Regions from separate parts of the Homo sapiens genome. Here region 1 is linked to region 2. The links are contacts of gene promoters, found by promoter capture Hi-C in human tissues and cell types (Jung and others, 2019). All regions are on one chromosome and are shown on one strand. Each heading gives the region's core, a stretch centred on a gene start or on the middle of the fragment in contact. The rest is flanking DNA. Distances are from core to core; before and after follow the strand shown.

Evidence for each region. Contacts are between HindIII fragments. The study calls those that stand out against the background at their distance.
Region 1: a fragment that was not itself captured here is called in contact with the fragment with the promoter of FAM177A1 in region 2 in 1 of the 25 tissues and cell types used here (lymphoblastoid cells).

What each region holds. Positions count from the first base shown.
Region 1 is chr14:35,690,842-35,697,696 of GRCh38, forward strand. The region is part of intron 17 of RALGAPA1 (Ral GTPase activating protein catalytic subunit alpha 1); the gene reads right to left. Among named protein-coding and RNA genes, the nearest start is that of SNORA101B, 69 kb to the right of the region's middle. The HindIII fragment of the contact is 3,012 bases long and covers 3,701-6,712 here.
Region 2 is chr14:35,040,393-35,047,521 of GRCh38, forward strand. FAM177A1 (family with sequence similarity 177 member A1) reads left to right here and starts at 5,880. Exons shown (of 5, transcript NM_173607.5): 1 at 5,880-6,236. The coding sequence starts at 6,072. RefSeq lists enhancers at 5,400-5,599, 6,320-6,589, 6,690-6,749 and a silencer at 5,720-6,069. The HindIII fragment of the contact is 5,057 bases long and covers 1,372-6,428 here.

The sequences.
Region 1 (6,855 bases), core at 3,957-6,456, 650 kb after region 2:
GGCAGATCACCTGAGGTCGGGAGTTCAAGACCAGCCTGACCAACATGGAGAAACCCCATCTCTATTAAAAACACAAAACTAGCCGGGCGTGGTGGTGCATGCCTGTAATTCCAGCTACTTGGGAGGCTGAGGCAGGAGAACTGCTTGAACCCATGAGGCAGAGGCTGCGGTGAGCCGAAATAATGCCACTGCACTCCAGCCTGGGCAACAAGAGCAAAACTCCGTCTCAAATAATAATAATAATAATAATTATTATTATTATTATAGATGGACATTCAGAGATTATCTAATTTAACTATCTCACAGATGAGAAAATTGAAGCCCAGAGAGGTTAAGTTACTTTATCAAATTTACAATAAAAAAGTTTGAGAAACAGGCTTAGTGTTGCATATCACTGCATTATTTTCACTGCCTTCAGTGTCAGGATGAAATAACCATTTAACTGTTCAGATATATACAAATTCTCAACAGGAATTGTGGAAGCAAAATACAATGTCTATGAATCCATCATGGTCTGTAAGTTACCTAGAAATAACAAAAAAAAATTGTTTTCAGAAGTCAGCAAAATATAATGAAGAAAGGACAGAGTCAAAAAGTCAGCTGTTGCTACTTATTAGGCTTCTTGCACAAAAGTTAAATGCAACAGAACTATAACTGAACAATCAAAATGAGAAAATTTAGATCCAGAAGCAAAGCAGTGACTTGTCCAAGATTACAAAATAATTTGTTGATTCTTACTCTAGATTTTGAGACTAGTTTCCTCATTTATAAAATGGAGATAGTCATTCAAAGTATTTTTGGGATCCATGCTACTATGGCTGAAAAAAGGCTAGTCCCTCTGCAATTTCATTCATATCACCCTATTTGTATGAGGTCCAAATGGACCTACTTTATACTAAATTGAGATCAACATAGGTTTGTATTATGCCAAGATTCTAGTATATTCCTAGTGATATACTAGTAGGCTCTCAACATAGGTTAAATATATAGTATCTCCTGAAGCTGAAACAATTAACTTTTTGTCCTTAAACTGAGGGGAATGTGCAACTTTAAAAAATGACATTGTTTTTCTTCCTCATGCACTCCACTGAGAAATTTTTCTAAGTGAAAAGCGAAACATTTCCTTACAAACTTCACTTTGATGCACTTATACTCATTAAGCGTTTGTTAATACAGCAGATAACTAACTCATATCTGTGCATCTTGACAAACATAAATATTTCGGTTTTTTACATCTGCCATAAGAGATCATAAGAACTTCTGCCTCAATGACAGAGATTATATTCAGCATGCACTCTAAATTTCTTTCCACACAATATTCTAAAGAACTCAGCAAAGGATAAAGACTGTATAGCTGTTCTATAAGAATTCTTACGAATTTTATAGCTTGGAATTTATTTTACCAAAGGTCAAAATCAAGATTTCAAAACATTAAAATCATAAAAACATTATGACACTAGCAAATGTACAAATGTCAGAAAAAAATAAAATATTAGTTTTAATTTTTAATTTCTTTTATAGATATTTCACAATTTTTCCATTCTAAAGAAGCCAGGAAAGATTATTATGATGTTCTGTGTTTAGGAATTCCTTCCCAAACTCAGCCCTCACTCCTTGTATATTAGAAAACGTAACCATTATTTCAGCCTATGTTTTTTTTTTTTCCTAAAACTTGTTACCATATATGACTATCTAAAACTTCTGTGCAAGCTTAAGAGGGAAAGAGCTTTAAAAAAAAAAAATGTAACTGGTTTTTTTCTACCAATATTGTAGTACCGGAGAATTTAAATTTAAACAATGTTTTTAAAAATTCTTAAGATTTAAATATAGTTCTTTCATGGCACATAATAATACTAACTACATAAAATCAAAGAAGAAAATAACACTGACAGGAAACCAACTTTATGCTAAATTCAGATCAAGAGGGCTGAATTATGTCAATACAAATGGCACTTGAATTGAGCATAATTGACTCTAATAAGCCTTACATTAGTTGAGCAAATATATACAGCTGAACTTTACTGAGAAAAAGACTAAATAATAACTAAACTATATATAGTATTTTCCACATGCCAGGTATTGTTGTAAGCATCTGACATATCATTCATTTAATCCTCACAACAACCCCATGAAGTAGGTGCTATGCCTATTTTATAAATGAAGAAACTCTTTAAGTGACTTGTCCAAAATTACACAACTACAAAGTGAGGAGTTGTGGTGTCAAGTAAGGCAGAAATTAATCTTTACTCTTAATCTCTTGAATAATACATCATATATGTTTTGTACTCATGAAATAATTTATTAATTTTTAAATAAAACTTGGTAAAAATTAATTGTATTATTAAAAAACCATAAAGCCAGGCTTTAGTTATATCTCAATATAAACAAAAAAGAATTTTAAAAAAACCACAGAGCAGCATAGTGATTTATCTCTATAAAGATAAGAATGTTAGAAATAAAAATCTAACTAAAACAAATGTTAGTAAATTATACAGAAGGAACCAATAAAAAAACTTTGAATTGCTAAAAATAATGGTGGCATCAGGTTTAAATAAAAATGCCCTCAAAACAATTTAATTATGCTTCTTATATTTTAACTTAAAAAATGAAAGCTTTTAAATAAAATTTTATATATTTTTCTCTTTCTTTTCTTTTTCTTAAGGGAAACCAACTGTGTCCTCTTACTCTCCCAGAGGAAGAGAAGAACGATCACCCATGTTCAGAGAAACTCCTCTACTAACATACCTTAGAAATTATGCTTGAAAGTATAGTCTTTTCAATTAAATGTTAATCTAAAGCATTAGAAACCACTTAATGAGTGAAACAATAAAAACGTTGTTTTCAAGAGATTTACACAAACTGCTTTTGAACATTGAGAAAATGCTTTGGTAAAATAAATTTAAATTTAGAGTTTAAAAACTCTATAAAGTTACAGAAATGTCAAGTTTTATCTCTGGGTTTCCTTAATACTGTTTAGCATTAAAATGGGTCAATTATTTCTAGATTAAAAAACCGGTTTTTTCCCGGAAATATTTTGTTCAAAAAGTTTCCTGTGTTAGTTTGAAAGGAAAGCTGTACATTAAAGTATACTGTCAGCTTATAAAATGTTAAGAAAAAAGTACTCCTTTCCACTAGATTTAAGTCTCTTGAGGATTTTTGTTTTGTTCATTGCAATATCTCTATTGATTGAAAGAGGACCTGTCACATAAGTATGGGCTTAATAAATACTGGTAGAAGAAAAGCTCGCCTTAAAAAAAAAAAGTAGCTGCTTATTGGTAAAAAGCAAGTTAGTTACTCACAAACTCTTCAGTTAAAATACTAACATATCACTAGAAATTTTAATAATTTCTGAAATGAATCATAGAATCAAGGGCCAAAATCCCCTTTACTAAAGTTAAATTATTTTACTGGTCAAGCACGAACGTTAGCTATCAGTAATATTTTTATGGTCCCTAAATTCATAATATCATTTAAACTAGTTTACATAGAAATTGATGCCATTTTGAAACTCAGTTTTTTTCTGCTAATTACCTAAGTTTTTGTCTATTTGGGCAACAACGGCAATGTACTTCAAGGTAAGTAAAAACGATAGAGCATCTATGTTTCAAATATTATTAACAGAGGCTATTAAAATTCTATCTTTTTAAGATTAGATGTTCAATTTGCAGGTAATTCAAAGCAGTTTTTACATTATTGTAATCATATGAAAAGACTTAAAAGCAACAAATCAAGCTCAATAGTTTTCATTTAAACCACTAAAATTTAGCCCAGTCGACTATCTTCTCTTTTATTCTAATATTGTTTTCCTGATTTTAAAATTTTGAACATAAACTACCAATACATTTTTTATGTTAAGAAAAGTATAGTGTTTTGCTTATGATTATGCTATATAATGTCATGTTTAAGTTAGCTTCACATTTTTCTTGAGATGTTCTTTTTAAAAAATTAATGCAGGCCAGGCGCAATGGCTCACACTTATAATTCCAGCACTTTGGGAGGCCCAGGTGGGTGGACCACCTGAGGTCAAGAGTTCGAGATCAGCCTGGCCAACATGGTGAAACCCCATCTCTACCAAAAATTAAAAAAAAATTAGCTAGGCATGGTGGCGGACTTCTGTAGTCCCAGCTACTCGGGAGGCTGAGGCACAAGAATTGCTTGAACCCAGGAAGTGGAGGTTGCAGTGAGCCAAGATTGCACCGCTGCATTCTAGGCTGGGCGACACAGCAAGACTGTGTCTCAAAAAAATTAACGTAAATTATTCCAGGAAAAAAAAATTAATTTGCCAGGAGGCTGAGGTGGGAGGAATGCTGGAGCCCAGGAGTTCCAGGCTGCAGTAAGCTAGGATGGCACCACAGCAATCAAGCCTGGGCAACACAATGAGACCCTATCTCTTAAAAAAAAAAAATCTAATTGGAATTATGCTATAATCAGCAGATTACAAGTGGAAAATATGTAAAATATTAATATCCTATTCTACACTGATGACAGGAAAAAATTCTTGATTGTATAAAGAAGGGCCTACTTCTTTGATGAGATGAAAAATTCTCCTTATTGGGCAGAATTTAGGAAAAGGATAGGCCTGTGAGACATACTATTTTATTTTTCATTGACAGTCACAAAACAGAAGTATAAAGAGCTCAATTCAAATAATAACATATCGTTAATAAAAAGAGATCAGTCCCCAACATTAGCAGTCTACATACTATAGCCTAGATAGACCAGAGTCCAATAGCAACAAAAATGACAAATCAGTTTTGGGAACTGGTTGAAAGAAACTGGGTCTGTAAGCTTAATTTCAGGATGAGAAACTCATAGTACTTGATTAGAAAATACTAAATAAGAAACATTTGTGGAAGTATACACAAAGCTGCCTACCATGTTTATATACTTTTATATTCCTTTTTTCACTAAAGTGTTACTTTTGGCAGTAAAAGTAATTTGCTTAAGAACGATGATTCAGATTTCTGGCTTCTCTCTTATCTGTTTATCAGGAAAATAATGACTGTCAGGCTGGGTTACCAAATGTCTACAATCTAGTGCAGTAATGATAAGTAATTATCAAAGGCCAATGAGAGAGAAGCCAAGGAGTGTACTTGCCCAGACACCAGAATAAATTATATTAGATGTTTGTGCAAGCCAACATATTGTATCAAATTTGATACATATTTTTCAAACTGTTATAGATGAGTCTGATGTTAAGAAACAGTGCATTGACATAGTGCTAATGCCCACAAACTGGTCCCCAGAGCTTAAGAAAAACTCTTTAAGGGCTGGGTGTGGTGGCTCACGCCTGTAATCCCAGCATTTTGGGAGGCCAAGGTGTGGAGGATCACTTGAGCCCAGGAGTTTAAGACCAGCCTGGGCAACTTTATGTTCAGAATTTCCCTGGGCAACAACCCTGTCTCTACAAAAAAATAAAAAAATTAGCCGGATGTGGTGGCACGTGCCTATGATCCCAGCTACATGGGAGGCTGAGGCAGGGAAGTCAAGGCTGCAGTGAGTCATGTTTGCACCACTGCACTCCAGCCTAGGCAACAGAGCAAATTAAAAAAAAAATTTTTTTTTTTAACTCTTCAAGAATACTCAACTATTCAACTAGGTTAGTCTATAGCTGTATATAAAGCTATATCATATAGCATCATACTTACAACAATGCAGGTAGTATGGACAGTTAGAACAAGAACACTGGAGGAGGAAAAATGGGCTGGGAACAAATAAGGTACTTAGAAAACTGATGGTCCTTTCTCATAGATTTTGGTACGTTAAAAAAAAAAAAGGATTTAAAGGACTTCCCTTTACCTCCCCAATTATCCAAAAGTATCAGATAAATATTTTTCTAACAAATTCTACTTCTAACCATAAACTAGAGGTAGATTGTCTATGAGTCGTTTCATTGAGGTTTTTTTTTGGTGAAGTAGTTGAAGAAACCTCATTTCCTGATTTCAGAGATAGACTCAGGAAATATTTTATGAGTTCGTTTAAGCTAATTCACATGAGGGAGAGCTACAAAAGCATGAAAAACCATTTACTTTTTCCCCTTCATACAGTTCACTTTCTTATTAATTCTCTGCACATTAAACTATTCTAAAGTAAAATTTAGTCAAACCTTGGAAGAAACATCAGCAATTAAAAAGTATGATTGGTTGATGATCTAAGATTTTGGTGATTGTTTTTTAATTTAGCACTATTTTTACAACTCTCTATTCTTATAACTCATACATTTTCTCTTATCTCTTCCACTCTCCTTCGCTCTACACCTAACACCTGAGGAATCAAATTCCAAGTCTTTAATTTGCTTCCAAGAATCGCAGAGGCAAAGACCAATCCAATAATTTAGATTTCTACAATGTAAACTGGTAGAAGATTAATCCTGCTTAATTTTCATATTGGTTCTCTCTGGAACCTTAATGGCACAGGATATCAATATGTGTACTTGGAAAGGTGTTCTGTGCTTAAATAAGTCTGAGACATATTCAATTATAAACAGTGTTTTTTTTTGTTTTGTTTTGTTTTGTTTTTTTTTGAGACGGAGTCTTGCTCTGTCGCCCAGGCTGGAGTGCAGTGGGCGATCTCGGCTCACTGCAAGCTCCACCTCCTGGGTTCATGCCATTCTCCTGCCTCAGCCTACTGAGCAGCTGGGACTACAGGCGCCTGCCACCAAGCCTGGCTAGTTTTTTTGTATTTTTAGTAGAGATGGGGTTTCATCGCGTTAGCCAGGATGGTCTCAAACTCCTGACCTCATGATCTGCCTGCCTCAGCCTCCCAAAGTTGCTGGGGGTACAGGTGTGAGCCACTGTGCCTGGCCAACAGTTTTGTTTTTTTTTTTAACAGGTTTTCTAAGGGCCTTTGGTATGT
Region 2 (7,129 bases), core at 4,630-7,129:
CAAGTCTACATGATTTGATCTCTTTATCATTGTCATTCTTTGGATTCACTAGATTAGTCATCATCCTCAAAATTCTGCCCCAAGTTCTAATTACGTTCCAAACATTTAGGGGTTACATGAAGCTTGAACCTACTACCTTCTTTGCTTTTGAGCCATGAGTTGTAGGAATGATGAGTTTACACCTTACATGCTGGGGATTAATTTAAACTTTACCTCTAAGTCAGTTGGGTAGCCTTTGGCTTATTTTTGTAGCTAATTTTGTAGTTAATGGATGCACTGTGAATCTTGCTATGATAGTTTTCCTCCACACTTTGCCACTAGGGGTAGGTAGGTACTCAGTTTTCAGTAATTGCTTACCTAAGACCCTAAGCCCTATTTCTCTTGTACTGGCCTTTATCTGTAATATGGGCATATTTAATACAATATAATTTTTGGAGTTTTTTTGTTTGTTTGTTTGTTTGTTTTTTTGAGACGGAGTCTTGCTCTGTCGCCCAGGCTGGAGTGCAGTGGTGCCATCTCGGCTCACTGCAAGCTCCACCTCCCGAGTTCACGCCATTTTCCTGCCTCAGCCTCCCGAGTAGCTGGGACTACAGGCGCCCGCCACCATGCCCGGCTAATTTTTTGTATTTTTGGTAGAGACGGGGTTTCACCGTGTTAGCCAGAATGGTCTCGATCTCCTGACTTCGTGATCCACCCGCCTCGGCCTCCCAAAGTTCTGGGATTACAGGTGTGAGCCACCGCACCTGGCCAATTTTTGGAGTCTTTTAAAGTAAAAATATGTCTTGTAAGCTGGTAACTATGGTACATTTCCTTTTATTAATGTGGTGCTGACGGTCATATAGGTTCTTTTGAGTTTGGCATGCATATGCTACTTTTTGCAGTCCTTTCATTACATTTTTCTCTCTTCATTTGAAGAGCATGTTATATCTTTTAGCTTCACTTGGCTTAAAAGGTTCTCTCATTAGCCTAACACAGTGCATTGTTGGTACCACTTGGATCATAAGTGGAAAAACAGTCAAGAAATTGCACAGTAATACTTGTTTGTAAGAGGGATGATTCAGGTGAATCTGACACTAAGAAACTCCCCTACCTGAGGTCTGAGATTCCTCTGACATTGCTGTATATAGGCTTTTCCTTTGCAGCCTGTGACTGCGGACTATTTTTCTTAAGCAAGATATGCTAAAGTTTTGTGAGCCTTTTTCCAGAGAGAGGTCTCATATCTGCATCAAGTGAGAACATATAATGTCTGCATGTTTCCATATTTCAGGAATGTTTGCTTGTGTTTTATGCTTTTATATAGACAGGGAAACTTGTTCCTCAGTGACCCAAAAGAGGTGGGAATTGTTATTGGATATCATCATTGGCCCACGCTTTCTGACCTTGGGAAATCAATTAAGGGGTTCATAATCTCAATTCTGTCAGAATTGGTACAAGAAATAGCTGCATGTTTCTTGACATTCCACTTGGTAGGAAATAAGAATGTGAAACTCTTCAGTTGGTGTGTGTCCCTTGTTTTTTTGCAATTTCCTTCTTACTGTGTTAAAAAAAAGTATGATCTTGCTCTGAGAGGTGAGGCATTCTTAATCATGATCTTTAAAGATCAATAATATAATCCTTTCAAGGATTATGTCTTTATTATAATAAAGATAATTTGTCTTTAACAGAATCAATAATATAATCCCTTAAAGGATTATATCTTTGCTGGGCGCAGTGGCTCACACCTGTAATCCCAGCACTTTGGGTGGCCAAGGTGGAAGGATCACCAGGTCAGGAGTTCGAGACCAGTCTGGCCAACATAGTGAAACCCCATCTCTATTAAAAGTACAAAAAATAAGCTGGGTGTGGTGGTGTGCGCCTGTAATCCCAGCTACTCGGGAAGCTGAGGCAGGAGAATCACGTGAAGCCGGGAGGTGGAGGTTGCATTGAGCCAAGATCGTGCCATTGCACTCCAGCTCAGGTGACAGTGCAAGACTCTGTCTAAAAAAAAAAAGGATTATATCTTTATATTTGTTATAGATTCTTATCAGAAGACACTCAGGGTTCTACAGATTTTAGATGAAGATGCACAGCTCTCCAACATTAAAATTACTGAGTCTAGCATAGTGTGCAAAGAAAGCTAGTTATTTTATGCCTAATACCATACAGAAAATTCTAGGCCGGGCATGGTGGCTCACACCCGTAATTCCAGCACTTTGGAAGGCTGAGGCGGGTGGATCACTTGAGGCCAGGAGTTTGAGACCAGCCTGGCCAACATAGTGAAACCCCTTTCTGGGAAAATACAAAAATTAGCTGGGTGTGGTGATGTGTGCCTGTAGTCCCAGCTTGGGACCCGAGGTGGGAGGATGACTTGAGCCTAGGAGATCGAGGCTGCAGTAAACCAAGAGCACGCCACTGCAATCCAGCCTGGCTGACAGAGTGAGACTGTCTCAAAAAAAAAAAAAAGAAAATTTTGGTGATTGGATATCACTGGTATATTCTCACCACACACACACACACACACACAGACACACACACACACAAAATGACCAAATTTTAATTAACAAAACAAAACCTTACATAACATCAAATCTAAAAATTCACTTGGTATTTTCATCTGCTTCTTACATATAGAGCTTTAAAGCTTACTAAAAGACTTTTAAAAAGAAACATACTTTACTCATTTCCATCCCAATCTTTCCAAACAACATACTCACCTTTGGTGTGGAAATTTCTTGCCTTGCTAACACTTACTGGCCTAGTATTTTTTGACATTTTCATTCTCAGTGGGGCGGAATGGCTAAGTGTGTAGGTGGTGGAATCAGAATGCCTGGGTTTTAATCCCAGCTCTGCTGCTTACCAGCTGCGTCACTGGAGCAAGTTGCTTAACTTCTCTTTGTTTCCTCATCTATAACATGTTGGTAGTTACAGTAATACTTCAGAATTGTTGTGAGGAATAAGAGTTAATACAAAGAAAGCAAAGTACCTGGCATATTGTGCTCCATAAGTGAAACCACTACCATGATTTTAATAACTTATTCAGCCTGGGCAACATGGCAAAACCTCATCTCTACAAAAAATATAAAAATTAGCCAGGTGTGATGGTACACGCCAGCTACTCAGGAGGCTGAGGTGGGAGGATCGTCTGAGTCTGCAGTGAGCCATAATTGTGCCACTGCACTCCAGCCTGGGTGATACAGTAAGGCCCTGTCTCAAAAAAAAAAAAAAAATTTCTTTATGCTTAGACTGAACCTAAAATGCATTTTTATTTTTATCATCTTTTTTTCTTGTGCATTATTTTTGATGAAAATATATTGTCCTGTTTGATGGATAACTTAAAAAATTCTCTATCAAAGTATATATATGTAGCTATGTTAAAACCCTAAGAATGTCTTGTTTATTTGATGAACATTCCTGGTTATCAAATTTTATTCAGATTTATTTTCCCAGCCTTACGCAGAAATGGTTCAATCCAAATTTACCTTTTTAGCTCTATATGTATCATTAAATGATAAATTTAGACCACATTATGTTTTCAAGTAGATAAATTATCATAATACTTGAATTTATTTTTGTCATAGTGCTACGATACAATTTATGTTACAAAGTGAAAGAAGGAAAAATTTGGCACATTGCCTTGGTGCCTACTTTTGGTTGAGCTATAACAGTTTGGAAATAATGACAAAAATATAAATGTCCAAAATAAAACCATTAGAATTTCTATGCTTTTATGTTGCTTTGAGTTGTTGATTTGTTTTGTTTTTGTTTTTTTGAGACGGAGTCTCGCTCTGTCGCCCAGGCTGGAGTGCAGTGGCGCGGTCTCGGCTCACTGCAAGCTCCGCCTCCCGGGTTCACGCCATTCTCCTGCCCCAGCCTCCCGAGTAGCTGGGACTACAGGCGCCCGCCACCACGCCCGGCTAATTTTTTGTATTTTATAGTAGAGACGGGGTTTCACCGTGTTAGCCAGGATGGTCTCGATCTCCTGACCTCGTGATCCACCCGCCTCCGCCTCCCAAAGTGCTGGGATTACAGGCGTGAGCCACCGTGCCCAGCCCGAGTTGTTGATTTGTAATAAACTGCTCTTCAATTGGATATTTGTGTTAAAAATAACTTTTTAGGAAATACTTCCAGTTCACGTTAGAATGTAACTTGTACTTTGAATTTTCAGTAAACTAAGAAATACACATGTAAACTGTGAAAATATATTCTGCTTCGGCAATGAAAATTGTAATTTGAGGCCAGGCGTGGTGGCTCACGCCTGTAATCCCAGCACTTTGGGAGGCTGAGGTGGGTGGATCATCTGAGGTCGGAAGTTCGATACTAGCCTGGCCAACATGGTGAAACCCCGTCTCTACTAACAATACAAAAATTAGCCGGGCGTGGTAGTGCACAACTGTAATCCCAGCTACTTGGCAGGCTGAGGTGGGGGAATCGCTTGAACCCGGGAGGCGGATGTTGCAGTGCGCCAAGATTGCGCCATTGCACTCCAGCGTGGGTGAGACCCCATCTCAAAAAAAAAAAAAAAGAAAAAAAAGAAAAAGAAAATTGTAATTTGATATTTAATTGCCACTTTGGAAAATAAAATCATGCATTTATAAATATCCCACAAAGTTTTAGTAATAAAGATTGTTGATTGCCCTGCTTGCCAGTAAGAAGGAAGAGATTTTGAATACATATAATGCAGAACTGTGTTGTTTATGAATGCCAATTCATGAAGTCTTAACAATTGGTTCTTTATTTTTGTTTTCAATTTATGGCCGAGTTTGGTTTTGCTGTTTTGGACTGTCTCAACTCCCTGCTGATGCCACCATACAGAGTCAGATCAGGTACTAACTTGTTTACTTCAGCAGCAACCTAACTTGATTTTATTACCAGGATAGAGAGCAATATGGATTTCCAACTAGTTTTTAAGGCGTAGATGGTTTTCAAATGATTATTTGTTTTTTAAAGTTTTTGGTTTTGTTTTTAGGTTCCAGTTATACATAGAATAGGAAGTGTACAATAACATTAGGCAGAGGGTAAGGAGAAGAACTTTGGCACAGAAGAGAAAGGAATATTTAATATTTGGGCCTGCTGTTGCTATGATGAAAAACATTTACAAGGTCATACAACTTTAGGGAGCATTTCTGAATTGAGACTAGTATGAAAATGGAATTTAAAGTATCAAATGAAGCCTCCCATAGCCAAAATAATGTATGTTTTGGTTTTGCCCCCTACATATTTGTGAAAACTTTCATGCTAAAACAACAATATACCATTTACCTGCAGAACCTCAGACTTGTTTGATGTTGAAGTCATGCAGTAATTGCATGATTTTTTACTTTCGTTGAACATTGCGAAAGACGGAAAAAATCTGGGACGCCCCCTCTAACATACGCACACGACTTTAAGACACAGATAAAACATTCCTTACATTTGTCAAGATGGAAGCTTACTACTGCCCTTTGCTCTCCTTCAGGTCTTTTCACTTAACACTTTCTACAGTTATACTTAAGTATTTCAGACAAGAGTAAGCAAATATCACGCCTGGGGTTCTTCTTTCGAGGGTATTTTGGCTGGACTGTCACCCACGTTTGGAATGGAAAGTGCAGCACGAGCCGTACATTTTACATTTTTCAGCAACCACATCCCATCACTAGCCTTTGAAGTACAACGACACAGCTGTCTTCATTTTACAAGTGCAAAAACCGAGGTCCTGCGGGGTGACTGCCCCAGACGCCGCTGGTGACGGGCTGCGCCGAGGTCGAGACGCCAGGCTTCAGGTACACGTACCAGAAATGACGTCACAGGCGGTGCCAGGCGGGGATCCACGAGCTCTGGATGCTTGCTTGGCCGGAAGCGACGCCCCGCAAGGACCCGCCCCGCCCCGCCCCGCCCCGCGCGAGCCGGTAGTTGCGCCTCCCAGACTGCAGTTGGCCAGCTCTCGGGGTGCGGAGCCCGGCGGGCTAGGCGAGGCGCGGGCTGGCCCCGCCCCTCAGGCCGGCGAGTCCCCTTCTCAGAGACTTGGCTAGGCGCGGCGCGAGGCGGGCGCTGGGCGGGTGAGTCCCACTTCCCGACAGCCTGGCTCGGCCAGCGACTGGGCGGGGAGACCAAGGATGGAAGTGGGCTTACCGGCCATTACCCTCTTTCTCACCAGCGCCAGCAGCCCTGTGGTGGCGACGACGATGGACCAGGAGCCAGTGGGCGGTGTGGAACGAGGAGAAGCCGTCGCAGCCTCGGGAGCTGCGGCCGCCGCGGCATTCGGGGAATCTGCAGGGCAGGTAGGTGGGGCCGCCGAGGCTGACGTCCGGGGAGCCGAGCCGCCTCCTTGCCTTCTCCGCGGGCCGCTCTTTTAGCCTGCGCGGCCGTCCTCCGAGCAGGCCGCCCCAGCTTTGGAGTTCCTCCTCACTGCACCCCTGTTTCTGCTCACTGAGACCAGCTTGTGGGAAGGAGCGCCCCCCGCCTCACTCACCAACCCCTTGGCTGGCAGCACAGCAGACTCTGGGGCGGCCTCGGGTTCCTGGGGTGATAGTCCAGCTTCTGGTCTACCAGAGGAAGAAGAAAGGCGTGTCCCCCAAAGGCTGTCCTTGCAGTAGCTGGAAGCCAGGTGAGGGCGGCTTCAACCACTTCTCAGTCTCTTCTGGTGCGAGCGCCTGCCTGGGCATCTGCCCTTTGCTTGGCATATGCCAAACGTTTACCAGCTTTAATTCACTGGATCCTTACAGTAACCGCTCGAGGTGGGTGTTAGCCCCATTTCACCGCCGAGGCAACTAAGGCTCCGAGCTGCGCTGTCCAACATAAATAGAATGCAAGCTGCATTGAAAATTGTAATTTAAAATTTTCCAGTAGGCACGTTTTAAAAAAGTGAAACCGATATTAATTTTAATAGCATATCTTATTTAACCTAATTTATCAAAACAATTTCAACCTAAAATTACTATGAAAGTTATTAATGAAGTATTTGCATTCTCTTTTGGAGTCTTTTCTAAGTCTTTTAAATCCTGGGTGCATTTTACACGCATAGCATATCGCAGTTCTGGCTGACCACATTTCAAGTGCGCATTAGCCACATGTGGCTAGTGGTTACTGTATTGGACAGCGCTGGTTTAGAGAGTTAACGTTTCTTGCAACTTTTCAGTATTAGACAAAAAGACACTTTGGGAGGCCAAGGCGG